Regions from separate parts of the Homo sapiens genome. Here regions 1 and 2 are each linked to region 3. The links are contacts of gene promoters, found by promoter capture Hi-C in human tissues and cell types (Jung and others, 2019). All regions are on one chromosome and are shown on one strand. Each heading gives the region's core, a stretch centred on a gene start or on the middle of the fragment in contact. The rest is flanking DNA. Distances are from core to core; before and after follow the strand shown. Region 1 has its middle 13 kb from the start of RFC5. Region 2 overlaps KSR2 (kinase suppressor of ras 2). Region 3 holds the start of KSR2 (kinase suppressor of ras 2).

Region 1 (3,747 bases), core at 870-3,369, 34 kb before region 3:
TGTTACTCAAAGCAAGGTCCAGGGAGCAGCAGCCTTCACACAACCTGGGAGCTTCTTAGAAGTGCAGTCTCTGGCTCCACTCCTGACCTCCTGAATCCAAATCTCCATTGTAACAAGGTCTCCAGGCAATTGGTAAGCACACTTCAGTTGCCAAGCCCCAGATACCACTGCATTGTATCAAGTTTTTGCCATTGGCAAAAACCACAATTACTTTTGCACCAACTTGATATCTCTATCCCACTGTCCTGCCTCTCAAGCCTGTTCTACACCCTCACTGTGAATTCTTCAGGGACTTGGGCCACTCTGCTCTCATACAACACTCTCACCTCCTCCCCTTGAAGGGCCTGGCGTTTTGACAATTCAAATTTAAGTCCCAAAGTTTCTAGGCTTTCAAGTTCCCCTGGACGAGGCAAGCCCAATATTCCAGAACTCTAAGGCTTAATCGCTTGTGGGGAAGAAATCCTCCTTAGTCTTTTGTATTGAGTCTGCAGCAGTAAATATTAATAAGTCTAGTTAATTTCTCAACCATGTTATTCTGTCACACTAATAATAGTCCCTCTAGGCTGGTAAAATTTAAAAAAGATTTATTTTGAAATTTTCCCTTTTTCTCCCTACATGGAATCCCGTGTAATTTCCCTAGGCTAGAAACCCCAAAGTCGTGGGGACTGAGAAAGATAAAAAGGTGTTAATAAGGATGTGGTCAAAGTACTTACATTATCCTAGCCATGTTTGGCAGTGGTCCAGCCTGAGACCACACAGCTTTTGGGTTTGTGACATTAAAAATGCGGAGATGGGCTGGGCACGGTGGCTCACGCCTGTAATCCCAGCACTTTGGGAGGCCAAGGCAGGCGGATCACCTGAGGTCAGGAGTTCAAGACCAGCCTGGCCAACGTGGTGAAACCCTGTCTCTACAAAAATACAAAAAATTAGCCAGGCATGATGGCGGGTGCCTGTAATCCCAGCTACTCAGGAGGCTGGGGCGGAAGAATCACTGGAACCTGGGAGGCAGAGGTTGCAGTGAGCCAAAATCATGCCATTGCACCCCAGCCTGGGTGACAGAGTGAGACTCCATCTCAAAAAAAAAAAAAAAAAGCAAGTAAATTAAAAAAGAAAATGCAGAGATGAAAAAGCAATTGGGTGCATACCTATTGTAAGCTCTGTGTGCACAACAAGGGGACAGTTTATTGCCCCTCTGCCATCATACTAGGGACCCTGGGGATGTAAGGAAGTGAGAAATAGACCTTAATATTGGCAAAAGACTGTAGAATTCATTTGAGAATGCCAAGTAATAAGAAAATGCAAATCAGTAGCATTATTTATGTTGCATGGCAGAGTTACACAACATTTTGTTATATAGTAGATGCTACACAAAGAATGGCTGTTTATAGACATTTTATCCCATTCCTCCAGTTCCTCTAAACTCACTCTTTCAAAGCATTTGGCCCAAGTTTAATGGCTTTTTTTTTTTTTGACAGGGTATCACTCTTGTCCAGGCTGGAGTGCAGTGGCTCTATTTCAGCTCACTGTAGCCTCTGCCTCCTGGCCTCAAGCAATCCTTTCACCTCAGCCTCTCGAGTAACTGGGACCACAGGTACATGCCACCATGCCCGGCTAATATTTTGGTATTTTTTGTAGAGACAGGGTTTCACCATATTGCCCAGGCTGGTCTTGAACTCCTGGGCTCAAGAGATCCACCTGCCTCAGCCTCCCAAAGTGCTGGCATTACAGTTGTGAGCCACTGCACCTGGCCAGGCAATGTGATTTTTAAAGTGCATATTTTAATTTTTAATTTTTATTTTTTTGAGATGGAGTCTGTCTCTGTCATCCAGGCTGGAGTGCAATGGTGCAATCTTGGCTCACCGTAACCTCTGTCTCCCAGGTTCAAGCGATCCTCCTGCCTCAGCCTCCCAAGTAGCTGGGATTACAAATGTGCACCACCACACCTGGCTAATTTTTGTATTTATCAGTAGAGATGGGGTTTCAACGTGTTGGCCAGGCTGGTCTTGAACTACTGACCTCAAGTGATCCCCCCCGCCTCAGCCTCCCAAAGTGCTGGGATTACAGGCATGAGCCATCACACGTGGCCCCTAAAATGTACATTTTAAATAAATGCAATGCTGAAAATTACAGCAAGAGAGTAAGCATTGAAAATTGGGCCAGGCCGCAGTAGCTAATGCCTGCAATCCCAGCACTTTGGGAGGCCAAGGCAGGCAGATTACCTGAGGTCAGGAGTTCGAGACCAGTCTGGCCAACATGGTGAAACCCCACCTCTACTAAAAATACAAAAATTAGCCGGGCGTGGTGGCACATGCCTGTAATCCCAGCTACTCGGGAGGCTGCAGCAGGAGAATCACTGAAACCCAGGAGGTGAAGGTTGCAGTGAGCTGAGATCATACCATTGCACTCCAGCCTGGGTGACAGAGCAAGATTCCCTCTCAAAAAAAAAAGAAAAGAAAAGAAAATTGGGCCAGGCATGGTGCTGCATACCTGTAATCCCAGATTTTGGGAGGCCAATGCAGGTGAATTGCTTGAGCCCAGGAGTTCAAGACCAGCCTGGGCCACAAGGCAAAATTTCATCTCTATTAGAATAATAATAATAATAATAATAATAATAATAATAATAATAATAATACTAAAGAAAAGAAAACAAAATTGAGGCACCAAGTTTGCCCCAAGTCAATATGGAGGAGAATTTTTAAGCTTGAAGATATTTTTTGTGGTTCAAATATAGACTATCAAAATATATTTTTTAAAATGCTTTAAGATTATTCTTTTAAATGAGAAGCACCTTAGAGTAAGTCTTGCTCTGAACTGAAGAAACTTGGCAGATCTGCAGGAAATTAAAATATCTGGCACATTCACTAATATGAAGATTGGACAATTGTGTCATGAAAAAGGCTTGAAAAACATTTGTTTTTCTTGTTTTGTTTTGTTTTGTGACAGGGTCTTGCTCTGTTGCCCAGGCTGGAGTGCAGTGGTGGCACCATCCCCCAGTCTTGCTCCATCCTCCCACCTCAGCCTCTCTAGTAGCTGGGACTACAGGCACATATCACCACACTCAGCTAGTTTTTGTTTATTAGGACTTGAAATTTAAAGATCATTTAAAGTACAAATTTTAACAAAAGCAAATTTCTTTCTTAAAAGAGTAACTAAAGTTTCCTGAGTCACATGAGAGTAAATCATTTTATATCCTCTGCTTTAGTTTTTTTCTTAATTTAAGAGATATTGGACAAAAATAACATATTCAATATGTCATATTTTGGGAAATGTCAACCAGAACTGGCTTGTTGAATATGGGTTATCGTCAGTTTGAGCCAATTAATTAAAAATCTGTCCTTAATGCTAAACTCAAATAAGTTCTTGGTTTTGATACAACTTCTAGTTTTCTTCTGTTGCTCAGGTGATTTGAAATTATAATTGAGAATAAATTTGGCAAAATTAACACATAAAAGGGCATCACTGAAAACATTTTCTATTGCATAATTCCAAATGCCATGGAAGAAGTTGTCATATTTGGATAGTCACAGAACTTTAATTCCATACATACATATTTCAAAATTATCCATCTGCTTAACACCAGGAAGGGTTTCAATGGTAAGATCTTGGTGTACCCAAATGTGGGGAACTTGGTGTGATAAAATTTGCGAAATCAAAATCGTGTTTTTTCTTTAAAAACAATTAGTAGGATTAGAAAGTTATTCCAAGTCTGCAATATGGTATTATGAGAATGAGAAAACAAGGCTGGGC
Region 2 (3,743 bases), core at 645-3,144, 45 kb after region 3:
GTCCCGTACTAGCTAAACCCCTACCCCAGCACACACTTTGGAATCAGTCCTGGGTTCAAATCTGATTTGCTGATTACTAGCCATGCGTCTTTGAGCAACTGTGTACCTCAGTTTTTTCCATCTGTAAAATATAGACCATACTAGACCTACCTATCAGGGTTAGGATTTAATAAGATAATACATGTGAAATGCTTAGCCTTATATCAGACATGCAGTAAGTAATAATATTAATAGCCATTGCTGCTGTCATTACTATAATTATTATTATGTAAAATACCACTGTCTATTAAAATAATAGTGAACAACTCAGTAATTGATTAAAAACTGTCAGCATTAATGATCTTCTCCTTTAAAGAGTAAGGTCAGTAAGAGACTATTTAAAAAGTTTTCTTAAATGGAAAATTTAAATATAAAAGAAAATATAAGCTGGACGTGGTGGCTTATGCCTATAATCTCAGCAGTTTGGGAGGCTGAGGTGGGCGGACTGCTTGAGGCCAGGAGTTCGAGACCAGCCTGGGCAACGTGGTGAAACCCCATCTCCACTAAAAATACAAAACTTAGCTGGGCATGGTGGCGTGAGCCTATAGTTCCAGCTACTTAGGAGGCTGAGGTGGGAGGACTGCTTGAGCCTGGGAGGTGGAGGATGCAGTGAGCCAAGATCAAACCACTGCACTCCAGCCTGGGCAACAGAGTGAGACCCTGTCTGAAAAAAAAAAAAAAGAAAGAAAATATAGTATAACAAACTTCCTTGTACTTACCACCCAGATTCAACAATAATCAACGTCTTGCCAATCTTGTTTCATTTGTTTCTGTCCTACTTGTGTGTGTGTGGGAGTGTTTTGACGCAAATCCCAGAGGTCATAGATTTTTATCTGTAAATACTTCAGTATGCATCTCAAACAGGTAAGGCCTTTTAAAATAATGTTACAGAAAGCTACTACCACAGCTTATAAAACAAAACATTAATTTGTCAATATCATTTAATATCCAGTCCATGTTCAAATATCTCCAGGTCTTTAAAATGTCTTGCTGCAGTTGACTTGTTTGAATTGGGATCTATACAGGTTCTTACATTGCATTTGGTTCATATGTCTCTTAAGTTTTTAACTTCCATAGTTCCACCTCCCTCTTCCCCACATTACTTATTTGTTGAAGAAACGGAGTCATTTGTACTATAGATTTTTTATGCCTCCTTAGGGGCATAGTTTAACTTCTTCCTTCATGCCCGTATTTCTTTCTTTTCTTTCTTTCTTTTTTTTTTTTTTTTTTTTTTTTGAGATGGAGCTTCACTCTTGTCAGCCAGGCTGGAGTGCAATGACACGATCTCAGCTCACTGCAACCTCTGCTTCCCGGGTTCAAGTGATTCTCCTGCCTCAGCCTCCTGAGTAGCTGGGATTACAGGCGCCTGCCACCATGCCCAGCTAAATTTTTTTGTATTTTTTTTAGTAGAGACGGGGTTTCACCATGTTGGCCAAGCTGGTCTCAAACTCCCGACCTCATGATCCGCCCGCCTCAGCCTCCCAAAGTGCTGGGATTACAGGCATGAGCCACCGTGCCTGGCCTAAATTTTTTTTCTATATAGTTATGTCACCAACTTGATATCTACAGTAGATTGATTTATTTTAGTTTTTCAGTTTTAAGTTTTAACCTCTATTAAAAAAGCAAATATAGGCCGGGCGCAGTGGCTCACGCCTGTAATCCTAGCACTTGGGGAGGCCGAGGTGGGAGGATCACCTGTGGTCGGGAGTTCGAGACCAGCCTGACCAACATGGAGAAACCCCGTCTCTACTAAGAATACAAAATTAGCCAGGCGTGGTGGCGCATGCCTGTAATCCCAGCTACTCGGGAGGCTGAGGCAGGAGATTCACTTGAACCCCGGAAGTGGAAGTTGTGGTGAGCCGAGATCACACCATTGCACTCCAGCCTGGGCAACAAGCGTGAAACTCTTGTCTCAAAAAAAAAAAAAAAGCAAATATATATTAATGTCAACTCCTTTGTTACACAAAACATAGAATACTACAAATACTGAATAAAGCAGCACACCCCTGTTTTCTTCTTTACTTAGTTGTTTGTTTCATTATGTTTATAGATTTGGATTACAGTCAATTCTCATTATTCATGGCAGTTATATATACGTATATATACACATACACATATACATACACACACACACACACACATATATATTTTAAGACAGTATCTCAAAAGTCTGTGGAGTGCAGTAGTGTGATCATAGCTCGCTGTATCCTTGACCTCCTGGGCTCAAGCGATCCTCCCACCTCAGCCTCCTGAGTAGTTGGGACTGCTGGCATGTGCCACCATGTCTGGCTAATTTTTTAAATTTTTAGTGGAGATGGGGTCTTGAACTCCTGGCCTCAAGCAGTCCTCCCACTTTGGCCTTCCAAAGTGCTGGGATTACAGGCATGAGCCACTACATCTGGCATCATGGCAGTTATATTCTATAAAGTTTTCCTGAATCCTGAGTTAACGAATATTGAATCTGCAGGGGAGATAACAGGGTTAGGTTTCTGCAAGCCTTTGGCCCTAAATTTACCAACCGATCATTTTATACGTGTTTCTGTTTAAAGACACCTTATTTTATAGATAGATATAGATAGATAGATAGATAGATGATAGATAGTTGATCCATTAACATTTAGCTCATAGCCAACAGCACTATAACTCATTCCTGAATGAAGCTTATCTAACACACACATTTTCTCTGTAAGGCACATTCCAGCCTTTTTGAGCTTAGGAACACACTAGGTAGCACTTTATCACTAACCGGGGGCATTCTAAATAGTGAAGTCACCAAAAAAGTACAAAAATATGAAGTAAGGTAGAGCGTCACCTTTCTGGATCTCACCTGGCATCATGTACATCGGGCAGCTCATGTTTTTCACTGTATGTTCGTATGTCCCCAGATGACCGTGAAAAGACCATGTGTATTGATATTGGGGTTACAAATAAATTTCAGTGAGTAGACAAATCTCCAAATGGAATAATCCACAAATAATGAGGACGGACTATTTTCTTTATTCTCCATTCTCCACTCAATTGTGAGCTCCATGAGGGGCAAGATCTTGCTGTTGTGCACCTTGTATGTGGTAGATGGATGAGTGAATCCCCAAGGAAGAGTGGATATTTTTTGCTTTGGGTCTTAAAGCTCTAAATATTTGTGTTTGGCTTAGGTGTGTTTCCCTTCTTTTGAAATGTAGTTCTTTCTCAGCAGAGCACTCGTCAGGCACAGATCTGTCAAATCTACTGAGTCATCAGATCTATCAAATCTACTGGTTCTGGGTCCTTAGAAATATTTAACATGAATGCAACCTGATATAAAATGTCCCCAAGTGCTTTATTTATGACTGTTATTCACCCCACCATGTGATCGACCCAGATTTTCTTTAAATAGGGAACTCTGCTAATATATGTGAACGGTGCTTTCCTTTACCCCAAAGTTGATTGACAGGCACTTTTCCAGCCATGCAGGCTTTGACCAAGGGGCTCATTATGTTGTCCTGATAGCTGATCTTGAGCCATGAACTTTAGCCAGTTAGGGAGAATTTCTCACAGAATTTCTCTGGGAAGAAGTTAAAGCATTTGCATTAGATTGGCTGATGAAAATTTTGTAGGATGTTGCTAATTTGAGACTTGCTGGGTTTGCCCTGTCTTCAGATAGGTGGGAACGCTTCTGGGTATGATTAACAGCCTAAATATACCGCATCAACACGCCTGCAGAGAAG
Region 3 (3,460 bases), core at 811-3,310:
CAATCTCAGCTCACTGCAACCTCCGCCTCCTGGGTTCAAGCGATTTTCCTGCCTGGGAGTAGCTGGAATTACAGGCGCCTGCCACCATGCCAGGCTAATTATTTGTATTTTTAGTAGGGACAGGGTTTCACCATGTTGGCCAGGCAGTCTCAAACTCCTGAGCTCAGGCTATTCACCCGCTTCAGCCTCCCAAATTGCTGGGATTACAGGTGGGAGCCACCACACCGGGTCAGCTGGCAGTCTTAAAAAAAAAAAAAAGTGTGTTGAGGGAGAGCATCAGGAAAAATAGCTAATGCATGCTGGGCTTAATACCTAGGTGATGGGTTGATAGGTGCAGCAAACCATCATGGCACACGTTTACCTATGTAACAAACCTGCACATCCTGCACATTTACCCCAGAACTTAAAAATAAAGGTTGTCATTCAACGTGGCCACCACTGGCTCCTGTTCGCTCTGCTTTTCAAGTGGCTTCATTTAAGAGTGACATATTATACCATGTGTTCTGAGTATCACGTCTTACTCAGTCCTCAGCACAGGGCTCTGTTCACCTAAAGAAAGAGGTGCCTTTTGCTAATCATTCTAAATACATCTGTTGGGCAATGTGTGTTGGGAATACTATTAGATAAGGTGGTTAGGGAGATGAGGCCTCTCTGAGATGATATTTGAGTTAACAGTGACAAGAAGAAACCCACCAGGAGAGGATTAGGGTGAAGCATGTTCTGAGCACTGTGGACATAGAGTACAAAGATTTAATCAAGAGTCAGCAAACTTTTCTGTAAAGTGCCAGACAGTAAATCTTTCAGGTGTTGTGAACCACCGGTCTCAGCTGCAGCTACTCAACTCTGCTTTACAACGCAGGAGTAACCACAGACAATAAACAGATGGGTGGTGGTACTCCAATAAAACTTTACTTGTGGACACTGAGATGTGAATTTCACATAACTTTCACGTGTCACAAAATGTTATTTTCATTTTTTTCCAACCATTTTATTTACATTTTTAATTTTTGAATTTTTAGTAGCGACAGGGTCTTGCTATGTTGTTGCCCAGGTTGGTCCCAAACTCCTGGCCTCAAGCGAGCCTCCTGACTGCCTCCCAAAGTTCTGGGGATTACAGGCATGAGCCACCTCACCAGGCTTCCAAAAATTTCAAAAGGTAAAAACCATCTTAACTGTGGAGCCATCGTTTGCTGATATAACGTCAGTTAGGTATGCTGGGGTCAGGCCACACAGACACTTGTAGGACATGGGAATACTCAGAATAAGGCAAAGGCCCTTTTCCTCGCCAAATGGAAAGCCATCAGGGCGGGCCAGGCTACCAAGTCTAGGAGGCAGCTTCCTGAAATTCACGGAAGATCATCAGGTTCGCTTTATTTTTTCCCCAGTAACAAGAAAGGACAAACGAACAAAAAAGGCACACACACACAAACACACACCCAAAGGACAAACGAACAAAAAAGGCAAACACACACACACACACACACCACCCCCGAGCTAAAGACAGACGGGATGTGCCCAGGTTCACGCCGACGCCTCTCCGGCGCGCACCGAGGGTTTTAAAGTTGGGCGCACACCTGCTCCCAGCCGGAGCGCACCTGCTGAGCAGCACTCCGGCCCGGTCTCGCGAGAGCGGTGCAGGAGTAGTGGCCCCCACCCGCTCCCCGCCACCAAATCCCTCTCCCCGCCCCCTCGCCCAGCCTCCAGGCTCGGGCACACTCCCGGCCTCCCCCGCCGCCCCCGGGAGCAGGCTGGGCCCGATGCGCGCGCTGTCTCCGCGCCCCCGCCCGCCGATCGCTCGCTTGCTCGCTCGCACGCACTCCCGGTAGTAATTTCACTTTGCCACGCGAGCTCCGCAGCCCCTAGAAATCCCGCCCCCCGGCCAGGTGCGCGAGTCTGCGCGCTCCTCCTCCGCCTCCTCCGACGGGTCCCTGGCGCGCCGGGGCCGGGGCCCGGCTGGGGCGGCTGCGCGCACGGCGCCTCTCCACCAACCCGCTCCCCTGCAGGTCCCTCGCTTGGTCTCCATCCCTCTCCGGCGCTCCCTCGCTCCCCCCCGCCCTTTGATTGACAGGCAAGATGTCGGTGTGGAGCGAGGCAGGAGCGATTGCAGCAACCGTCACCCCCGGAGCCCGGCGGCGGCAGCAGCAGCAGCAGCAGCAGCGCGGGGAGGAGACAGCAGCCAGCCGCAGTAGCCGCCGCAGCCGCGGGAGCAATGCAGACAGCACCTTGAGAACGCGCTAAAGCACTCCAAACCGTGGACCATGCCGTGTCCCTGCAACTGGGAGGGGGGAAAACCAGATTTTTTTTGACATAAAAGCAAGCCAGCCAAAAATATATAATTTTGTCCTTCAAGGAGCCGGTGTGTAAAGAGTGAGCGCTATTTTCCTTCTCCTCCTCCTCCTCTCCCTCCTCCTCCTCTCCCTCCTCCTCTCTCTCCTCCTTCTCCTCTTCTTTTTCCTCCTCCTCCTCCTCCCTAAGTGTACAGACAGCATCACATCACCTGGTTTGCTTCTGAGAAACAGCATCTCTCCTTTTCAGGGACCAGAGACTCAGAGAGAGAGGAGACATTCTAATGGAGTCCGCTTGATATCCCAAAATAAAATAATAAATTTTGGCTCTTGTCCCCTCCTCCCACTCCCACCCCCTCAACCCTGTGTGAGATGTTGGATTTCTTCTTCATGAGACATTGTTGAGAAGTCGCAGTGGTTGGAGAGGCGGAGGGTAGACTACCTCTACTCCCCCCCCTCTTTTTTCTCTCTGGGAGGAGGAGGAGGGGAAGGGGGTTGCAGAGCAAGCGATGGATGAGGAAAACATGACGAAAAGCGAGGAGCAGCAGCCTCTGAGTTTGCAAAAAGCCTTACAGCAGTGCGAACTGGTCCAAAACATGATAGACTTGAGCATCTCCAACCTGGAAGGGCTTAGGACCAAATGTGCTACCTCCAACGACCTCACACAAAAAGAAATCCGGACCCTGGAGGTAGGTGTTGCCTACGGGAAAAAAAAAAAAAAAAAAAAAAAAAAAAGCAATCCTTCTTTCCCCCTCCTTTCTCCCCACGGTCCCCTTTCCCTCTGATTCTGTTTATTGGGGGCTGGGGGTGGTGGTGTGGGCAAGCAAGGTGGGCACGGTTTGCTTTTCTGTGATTTCTCTCCTTGCAAAGCCTGCATTGGATATCCTTTTACTGTGCTGCTGTCGTCTGCGCTTGGCTGGGTGGTGGTAGTAGTAGTAGTAATTGTTATTCTTTATTTATTATTATTGTTGCGGCTGTTACCGTTGTCATTCGCTTCCTCGCTGAGGAGGGAGTTCTCTCTTTTTTCCGCTTGTGGATTTGTTTATATGCCACGGGGGCTTGTGTGCCGGGTAATACATTAAGGAGCTGCAGAGAACCCACGTGACCTTGCGCATTCTGCAGGTGGTCAAAAGGTGGTTTTTGCTCACAGAATGGGGCCGCCTGTCAGTGTAGAC

What was found. Contacts are between HindIII fragments. The study calls those that stand out against the background at their distance.
Region 1: a fragment that was not itself captured here is called in contact with the fragment with the promoter of KSR2 in region 3 in 1 of the 25 tissues and cell types used here (mesendoderm cells).
Region 2: a contact is called between a fragment that was not itself captured here and the fragment with the promoter of KSR2 in region 3, in 1 of the 25 tissues and cell types used here (ovary).

What each region holds. Positions count from the first base shown.
Region 1 is chr12:118,001,615-118,005,361 of GRCh38, reverse strand. No RefSeq gene overlaps it. Among named protein-coding and RNA genes, the nearest start is that of RFC5, 13 kb to the left of the region's middle. RefSeq lists a silencer at 804-996. The HindIII fragment of the contact is 6,287 bases long and covers 1-3,747 here.
Region 2 is chr12:117,922,105-117,925,847 of GRCh38, reverse strand. The region is part of intron 1 of KSR2 (kinase suppressor of ras 2); the gene reads left to right. Among named protein-coding and RNA genes, the nearest start is that of KSR2, 45 kb to the left of the region's middle. The HindIII fragment of the contact is 6,411 bases long and covers 1-3,743 here.
Region 3 is chr12:117,967,590-117,971,049 of GRCh38, reverse strand. KSR2 (kinase suppressor of ras 2) reads left to right here and starts at 2,060. Exons shown (of 20, transcript NM_173598.6): 1 at 2,060-2,974. The coding sequence starts at 2,795. RefSeq lists silencers at 1,658-1,767, 1,778-2,047. The HindIII fragment of the contact is 12,977 bases long and covers 1-3,460 here.